Regions from separate parts of the Homo sapiens genome. Here region 1 is linked to region 2. Evidence: promoter capture Hi-C in human tissues and cell types (Jung and others, 2019). All regions are on one chromosome and are shown on one strand. Each heading gives the region's core, a stretch centred on a gene start or on the middle of the fragment in contact. The rest is flanking DNA. Distances are from core to core; before and after follow the strand shown. Region 1 overlaps PRKAR2A (protein kinase cAMP-dependent type II regulatory subunit alpha). Region 2 holds the start of CELSR3 (cadherin EGF LAG seven-pass G-type receptor 3).

Evidence for each region. The method cuts DNA at HindIII sites, captures the fragments that hold promoters and counts their contacts. A contact is called where the count stands out against the background at its distance.
Region 1: a contact is called between a fragment that was not itself captured here and the fragment with the promoter of CELSR3 in region 2, in 1 of the 25 tissues and cell types used here (spleen).

Annotation. Positions count from the first base shown.
Region 1 is chr3:48,818,737-48,822,629 of GRCh38, forward strand. The region is part of intron 1 of PRKAR2A (protein kinase cAMP-dependent type II regulatory subunit alpha); the gene reads right to left. Among named protein-coding and RNA genes, the nearest start is that of PRKAR2A, 27 kb to the right of the region's middle. The HindIII fragment of the contact is 9,279 bases long and covers 1-3,893 here.
Region 2 is chr3:48,660,527-48,664,610 of GRCh38, forward strand. CELSR3 (cadherin EGF LAG seven-pass G-type receptor 3) reads right to left here and starts at 2,360. Exons shown (of 35, transcript NM_001407.3): 1 at 1-2,360. The coding sequence starts at 2,108. It overlaps LINC02585 (long intergenic non-protein coding RNA 2585), which reads left to right and starts at 3,242. Exons shown (of 3, transcript NR_111921.1): 1 at 3,242-3,287. RefSeq lists enhancers at 83-669, 670-1,254, 2,366-2,555, 2,426-3,011, 3,326-3,685 and 1 more. The HindIII fragment of the contact is 20,539 bases long and covers 1-4,084 here.

The DNA.
Region 1 (3,893 bases), core at 496-2,995, 160 kb after region 2:
TGTCTCAAAAAAAAGAAAAGAGAACTTAAACTTCTCTGAGCCTCAGTATTCTCACAAATTCAATAAGGGTAGTACTACTTACCACAAATGACCCGAGGGCAGACTTAATGACCCTATGTATAGAAGTACTGAGACAGTAAAATGTTAGGGATATCATAGTTTTGTGGAGGGTTTGTTTGCTGGTTTTTCAAAATTATCTATCTTTAAAATACTGCAGTTTCACATTTTTTTTCACAGCTGCTATTCTGCCACGTATACCCTGTTCAAACACTTTTTTTTTTTTGAGACAGAGTTTCGCTCTTGTTGCCCAGGCTGGAGTGCAGTGGTGCAATCTCTGCTCACTGCAACCTCCCACTGCAACCTCCGCCTCCTGGGCTCAAGCGATTCTCCTGCCTTAGCCTCCCAAATAGCTGGGATTACAGGCGCCAACCACCACACCTGGCTAATTTTTGTATTTTTAGTAGAGACAGGATTTCACCATGTTGGCCAGGCTGGTTTCGAACTCCTGACTTCAGGTGATCCGCCAGCCTTGACCTCCCAAAGTGCTGGGATTACAGGCATGAGCCACAACGCCCACCCTCAAACATTTTTTGTTAGTTACAATTTTTGAGTCCCACTACGTGCAAGTATTATGCCAACCATTTTAAATGCATCATCACATATACCCTTCACAACAACCCTATTACCATCCCATTTTGTAGCTGAGGAGACTGAGACTCAGAGAATTGTACCCAAGGTCACACAGCTAGGAAGTGGTCAAGCCAGAATCTGAGTCATCTAAATTTGACAACTGAGGAAAAGTAAAAGTGTGAATCAATAAAATACTTGTTTTACATTTTTTGAAATAAATTCCACCATTCCATTATTTAATTATGGATCCTTAGCAATATAATGTTTATTAGAATCCCCCCAGCTTTTTCCTGTGGAAGGATCATGTTGCCTGTTTGCTTACTGCTGCCCCTACCAGACAGATGATAAGCTCCTATAGTCAAGTGCACTTTTATCCTCCCCTGTCCCAGTGCTGACCAGAGTGGACATCTGCTGAAATAACACAGGAAGGCAGTGGGGAGGCTGAAGGCCACAACAGTGTTCAGCCATACCACTGTGTCAACCCACCTCCTGTGACACTACTCCAAACCCCTACCTTCTCCTAGTTAGGTAACCAGAGTTATCCTTTAGGAGTGGCCTCTCACAGATGTGAAGTCCTTGTGGGACTTCACTCCCAACTCTGCCTACTACTTCCAATTTGGTCATAGGATAGGGTGCATGATCCAAGCCAGGCAAATCAGTGTTCTTAAGCATGGTAACTTGCTTGGAACAAGCATAGAACATTCATGGTAACTTATTCCAAAAACGGAATATGACCCAACCCAAGCCATTCCTTCTCTGGAATATTCTAAACTGGGGATACAGAATAGCTCGCTCTTTAGTTTGGATCAGGAACTGCTTTAGGCACTGTGGAGCCAATGGAGTAGATCTACCGCAAGGGAATAAGAGGGTCATACATGCATTTTGGAAAGATTATTCTAATAATAGTATCACCAATGGAATAAGACACGGAGTGGGAAGACCAGTAATGGGCCTACTGTAATATTCCTGACAAAAAAATGAAGAAAGCTTGAATGGTAACGGGAATGGAGAAAAGGGAACACATTAGGAAACATTTGGGGATTGCCTTTTGTCTCACTGGAAATACTGTCCTAAAACAGAGAACCTGACTCCTTAATTCTCTTGCACATAGATGACTACTGTGAACACTCGATTCATATGATAAGTACTTACCAAGTACCTAGAAACCAGTAAGAATGAAGTAGTTATAAGCATAGATTCTGAGCCAGGCTGCTTGGGTTCAAATCCAGTCACCTCACTTACTAGCAGTGTGACCTTGAATAAGTTACTTAACCTCTGTGCCTCACTTTCCTCATCTATAAAACCAGGATAATAATAGCACCTACCTCATAGGGTTGCTGCTGTGCAGAAAAGGAAACCCTTGAACTGGTTGATAAAAGACAAGTAGCAGTTCAGCAGAGAAACAAGAAGGGGAGGACAGCATTCCAGGCAGAAGGGAAGGCATATGCAAAGGAAAAGAAATGTGAAAAAGTGAGCTTGACTCATGACCATTGTGCTCTCCAGACCCACATTCCCAATGTTGGCTAAATGCCAGCTGGAACTCCAACTCCCTGAGTTGGACCTGAAATTCAATAGGTCCAGAATAGAACCAATAAACTTCACAGTTCCTGTTACTCCAGGCTCCCTATGTCAGGGGCAATGCCATGACCATCTCCAATCACACAGTTTTAATTACTCCCCCATTTACTCCTAAACACAGACTGTAACAGTAGGACAAGGGTGGAATGATTAGTCCAGCGTAAGCCATGCCTCACAGAAAGAGAAAGAACGTCTCCCTAAGTATAGGATCTGACTGTGGCAAGATCAGAGCAAGGAGTGGTGGGGATTGTGGGTCAAGTCAGAGATGACACAGAGCACTACTTACCCAGGGGCAGAAACTTCAACTCTAGGAACACCAGCTATCCAGACCTAAAAGGATCATTCTCTGCTGTAAAGACCAGCTTTGCTTCATGCTCCCAGAACTAGGGAAATACCTCCTCCTACCCATCCCCACTCCCTTCCAGCTATTGCTATTTTTCCTGTTACAATTCTGTATTTTCCAATCAAAACTCTTACTGATAATCCAATTTCCCAAGAATTTTTAAATATGCAAGTTCCCTGGTTTTTAGAGATATGAGTTCTTGAGAGATATGAGTTCTAGGATCAATAGAAATGATTAAACAACCAATTACAGTTATCACACCAGACACTAGATATTTAGCATACATTATCTTTAAGTTTTACCACACCCTTGAAAGACAGTCAAGAACTCCCTTTTGAATGGAAACAGGACCAGGCACAGTGGCTCACGCCTGTAATCCCAGCACTTTGGGAGGCCGAGGCGGGCGGATCGCGAGGTCAGGAGTTTGAGACCAGCCTGGCCAACATGGTGAAACCCTGTCTCTACTAAAAATACAAAAACTAGCCGGGCATGGTGGTGTGCACCTGTAGTCCCAGCTACTAGGGGACTGAGGCAGCAGAATCGCTTGAACCTGGGAGGTGAAGGTTGCAGTGAGCCGAGATTGCACTACTGCACTCCAGCCTGGGCGACAGAGCAACACTCCATGTCAGAAAAAAAAAAAAAAAAGAATGAAAACAGGGCCAGGCGCAGTGTCTCACGCCTGTAATCCCAGCACTTTGGGAGGCCAAGGCGGGCAGATCACTTGATGTCAGTTCGAGACCAGCCTGGCCAACATGGCGAAACCCCATCTCTAATATAGCTGGACATGGTGGCGCATGCCCGTAATCCCAGCTACTCAGGAGGCTGGGGCAGGAGAATCCCTTGAACCAGGGAGGCAGAGGTTGCAGTGAGCCAAGATTGCACCATTGCACTCCAGCCTGGGTGACGGGGCAAGATTCTGTCTCAAAAAAAAAAAAAAAAAAAAATGGAGTTTCCCAGCATCCAGCCTGGCACTGCCTCAGACCAGTTCTTCACACAGCTTGCATGGGGTATAAATATGGTGATGTTCCTTCCCTTTATAAAGCTGTTTAATGTGTCCCTGGCCTGTAGAAGCATCTCCCAAACTTCCATGGCCACAGAACCATTTCAAATTGATAGAACACCAGCTAGCACTCACAATATCTACTAAATTGAATCTATATGCTTAGATTAGAGCAAAGAGAAGGAAAAAATGGCCTCGGTAACTGATGCCAAAAGAAAAAAATTATACTCTAATAAAAGAAAAAGCAAATTAGCAAAATTAAGCCATTTTCATTTTCCTAAGAACACAATTTCACATATTCTGTAATTAAAACACAAGACACATGTCACAGACTAGTAATCA
Region 2 (4,084 bases), core at 1,110-3,609:
CTGTTTATCACAAAAGGAGTATCAGGTGCCACACCAGTTAGGGAGTACTCCAATCTGGCATTCTCCCCATGGTCTGCATCGACTGCCTGAATGTGGATGACTGAGTGACCCAAGGGAGCATTTTCCAAGACAGAAACTTGGAAGGGCGTGCTGACAAAAATAGGAATGTGGTCATTGATGTCCACCACCTGGATGCTGGCCAGGCCCGTGTTGTTGGACAGCGGTGGCCGGCCAGCATCCTGCGCCCTGATGCGCAAGGCATACTCTCTCTCTGCCTCGAAGTCCAGAGGTGCCACCACCTGGATCTCGCCAGTGAGGCTGTCGATGGCAAAGTGTCCACGGCTATTGCCACTGATGATGTTGTAGTGCACCAATCCGTTGGCGTCCTTGTCCCGGTCAGTGGCCGTGACGCGCAGCACGACTGTGTGGGGGCGCACATCCTCGCGCACCTGCGCCACGTAGCGCTTCTCGCTGAACTGAGGAGCATTGTCGTTCTCGTCTAGCACAGTTATGTGTACGCGCACAGTGGCCGAGCGCGGCCCGGGTTCCTGGCCCTGGTCGCTGGCTTCCACCACCAGCTCATAGCTTTCCATGTGCTCGCGGTCCACTCGGCCGCTGGTGCTGATGAGGCCGGAGCGTGGATCAATCTCGAAGGCGGCGGCAGCTGCAGCGCGCGCAGCTGGCGGCCCCACGAAGCGGTAGCGCAGGTTGGCGTTGGGGGGCGCGTCGCCGTCAGTGGCACGCAGCTGCAGGATAGGGTAGCCCTCCTCCACATTCTCGCGAAGGGTCTCCCGGTACTGCGCTTGCTCAAAAACCGGCGAGTGGTCGTTGCGGTCGGCTACTGTCACGGCCACCATCGTGGTGGCCGAGAGGCGCGGCGACCCGTGGTCCTGCGCGGTCACACGCAGGTAGTGACGCTCCATGCTCTCGCGGTCCAGAGCTGCCGCCGTACGGATAAGGCCGCTCTGCGGGTCGATGCTGAACAGCTCCAGCGAGCGGCTGTTCATGAGTGCCGCCAGCGAGTAGACTAGGCGCCCGGCCTCGCCGGCGTCCGGGTCCTGAGCAACCACGCGTAGCACCGCGGTGCCTGCTGCCTCATTCTCCGGCACCAGCGTCTGGTAGTTGTACTGCGGAAACTGCGGGTGGCGGTTTGCGGCGCGACGAAAGCGTGCCCGGTTCGCCGAGGTTACTTTCCTGGCTTCAGGACGGGCCGGGAGTCCCGGGGGACGCGGCCCGGGGCGCTGCGGGAGGAAGCGGCAGCGGAAGAGACCCCGGGAGCGCATGCGCTTGGGCGCCGGCTCGGGAGCTGTCCGAGACTCGCGGGGTGCTGAACCTGATGCAGGAGCTGTCCTCGCCGTGCGTGGTGCTGAATCCAGCTCGGGGCCAGATCCCGAGGCCCCTGGAAGACAGTTCCGCCGGGGGGCTGTCCTTTCTGCTCCGGATGTCGTGGCTCTCTCGCCCTGACCCTTGCTCCCTGTTGCCCATAATTCCCCACAGCAGCGCGCGGTGCCCACTCTTTTGCGGGAGCCTGTCCCAGCGTTCCGCTGGGAGGACACCGGCTTGGGACCGTGGTGCCGAATCAAAAAGTCTGAAGGGAGGGGCGAGCTGTTCCCCGAGCCCGGGACCCCTGAGGACAGAGCCCCTGGTGACAGACTACCTCTTTGCAAAGGTCCTGTCCGCCCGCAAGAGGAGACCTCTGGGCGCCAGTATAACACAGACCCTGGTCCCTGTCCTGTCTCTCGTTCGCGGCTGCCCAATGGCTGGACGCCGTGTTCAATCCCCAGCTCCTCATTCGGCTGCTCAGGGGGCCCTCGACTATTCCGGGCGCTTTGCCTTCTCCCTCGGAGCCCCACGAAGATAGGCTCCCTGACCCCCAGGCCAGGCCCCCCATCCTCCCGGACCCCGGAAGACTCCGGACAAAGAGCTAAGGCTCCGCCACCGATATGCGCCCTTGGCCCCGTAGTGGCAGCTAAGCCTGGGTCCCAGCCCTGGTGCCCACCGCCCCCCAGCTCCTCCTGGCTGAGGGGGAACAAAGAGAGGAGAAGGAGCAGGAGTATGGGGGTCGACCGTCCCCCGAGGCCCCGCCACGGCGGCCGCCTCGCCATCATCCCCCGCCTCCCTGCACGGCCTCCACCGCCCCCCGCCCCGGTCCGGGCCTTGGGCTGGCCCCGCCGCTCGGGCCCCCTCCCGGGCCCCTGCCGCCGCCCCGGGCCCCCGCCCCTCCGCCTGTCTCTCCGCACCCCCGCCGCCCTCTGGGCACCATCTACTCCGCGGCCGGAGCCCCTCCGGCGTGCGGCCCTGGCTTTTTCCGCCCCCACCACAGCATCCCCGACGCTGCTGCCGCCTCCCGCCGCTCCAACATGGCTCCCGGCCGCCCCGATGGTTCGCTCCACCTCTGCCCCGGCGCCCGAAACACGGTGGTACAACCCATCGCGCATGGCAGCTCTGAGGACCGAAGATGTTGCCGCCATCTTTATTGAGGACGTGAGCGTTGCTCCTGGTGCTGAACAGAGCGCGAAGGTTCGCCGTCGTTGGGTCCGCCCTCCCCACTTTCGGTCGCCGCCTTCACCCACCTCCCTCCTTCTAGGGCGCTGTCCCAGCTCCGTCTCCCAGCCTTTTTCTGTCCTTCCAGATCTCTTGTTCCCCCTTCCTGACCACTAGTTCTGAACCGTGTCCCGGATTTTGGTCTGAAATTTTGGTGCCCATGAGCGTTCTCATAGCTCTGGGAGGGGGTACTGTGTGAAATCCTGGGGTAGAGGGGACGATGGCTGGAGAGGGGTCTGGGGTGCCAGCACCCCGAACAATAGCTTTAACTATCCCATCAGCTAGTTTTATGAAACATGTCGCGACCACCTGCTTGTTTGGATCGCCCCTGCGGAGCAGGGACCAGAGATGACCCTCCCGAGGCGGGAGCAGAGGCCAAATTCTTCCCTGCCTTGCTGGTCCCCAGCAGTCTCCCGGGCTCGGGGCCCCTTCACTGGAGGCTGCACCCCCTCCCAGGCTGCGAGTCCCGAGTGCTCTGGGATGCCACGTGGAGCCCGGCGTTGCCCCATGGCTGCGGGCCCCGCTTCTTCGGGTCCCCGCCCCTCGTCCGTCACGACCGCATGCCTTAACCCCTTGAAGGGACTGACACAGAAACTCAGTCCTCCCCCCACCCTCGGTGCATTCCAGCTCTCCCTGCGTAACTCCTGGCACGCGCCGGTCTCGCCAGGCCAATGGGTGGACCTGGCGCAACAGACGTCACGAGAGGAGCGGAGGCGAGGGGTGAACGCGGAGCACTCCAATCGGTCAGTCATTGTTTCTATTGGCACAATGGGAGGCCCCGCCCCTCACGGCGGACTCATCGCATGGGGGAGGGGGCTCCGCGGGTTGCCGGCTAACCGTGAGAGAGTCCGGGAGGTACACTATACGGACCGGCCTCCAAAGGCGGAATCGATAACGAGCTGCAGCGCCGGGTGCAGAGGACGCGGGCATCCCGAAGCCCAGGAAGAGGTCAGGGCCGGGACCCCAGAACGCTCCACAGGGTGCGGCTCCCGCGATGGGGTGGATCCTGGTTCTAACAGGCGAGGAACTCCTGGCCAAGGCCTCTGGCCCGCCCCGAACGGTCCCTATGACATCACCATCAACCAATCAGTCGGCGCATCCTTTCGCCCCTTGACTGCTCCGCTTCCGGGAGGCGGGGCTTCTGCGGGTTCCACCTCCCGAGCGCCCCTTGTGGCTACCAAGGTCAGGCAACAGGTGTCCAGTTGTTCCCTCTCCTGTCTACGAATCTGAGGACCTCCCCAGGATCAGAGCTCTGGGCCTGATACACGGCCGGGGTTCCTACGGGTTTGTGAGTGGGGGTGGAAGATCTGCAGAGGCACTTAGGGCTGAACTCCTTTGAATGGGAGCCAATCGGTGCAGGGGCTGGAGGAGCGAGTCCCCCAAAGTAGTTTTATTTATCTATTTAGAGACAAGGTCTCACTCTTTCGGAGTGCAGTGGTGATCACAGCTCACCGTAGCCTCGAACTCCCCAGGCGATTCTCTCACCTCAGCCTCCCGAGTAGCTGGGACTACGGGTACATGTCATCACACTTGGCTAATT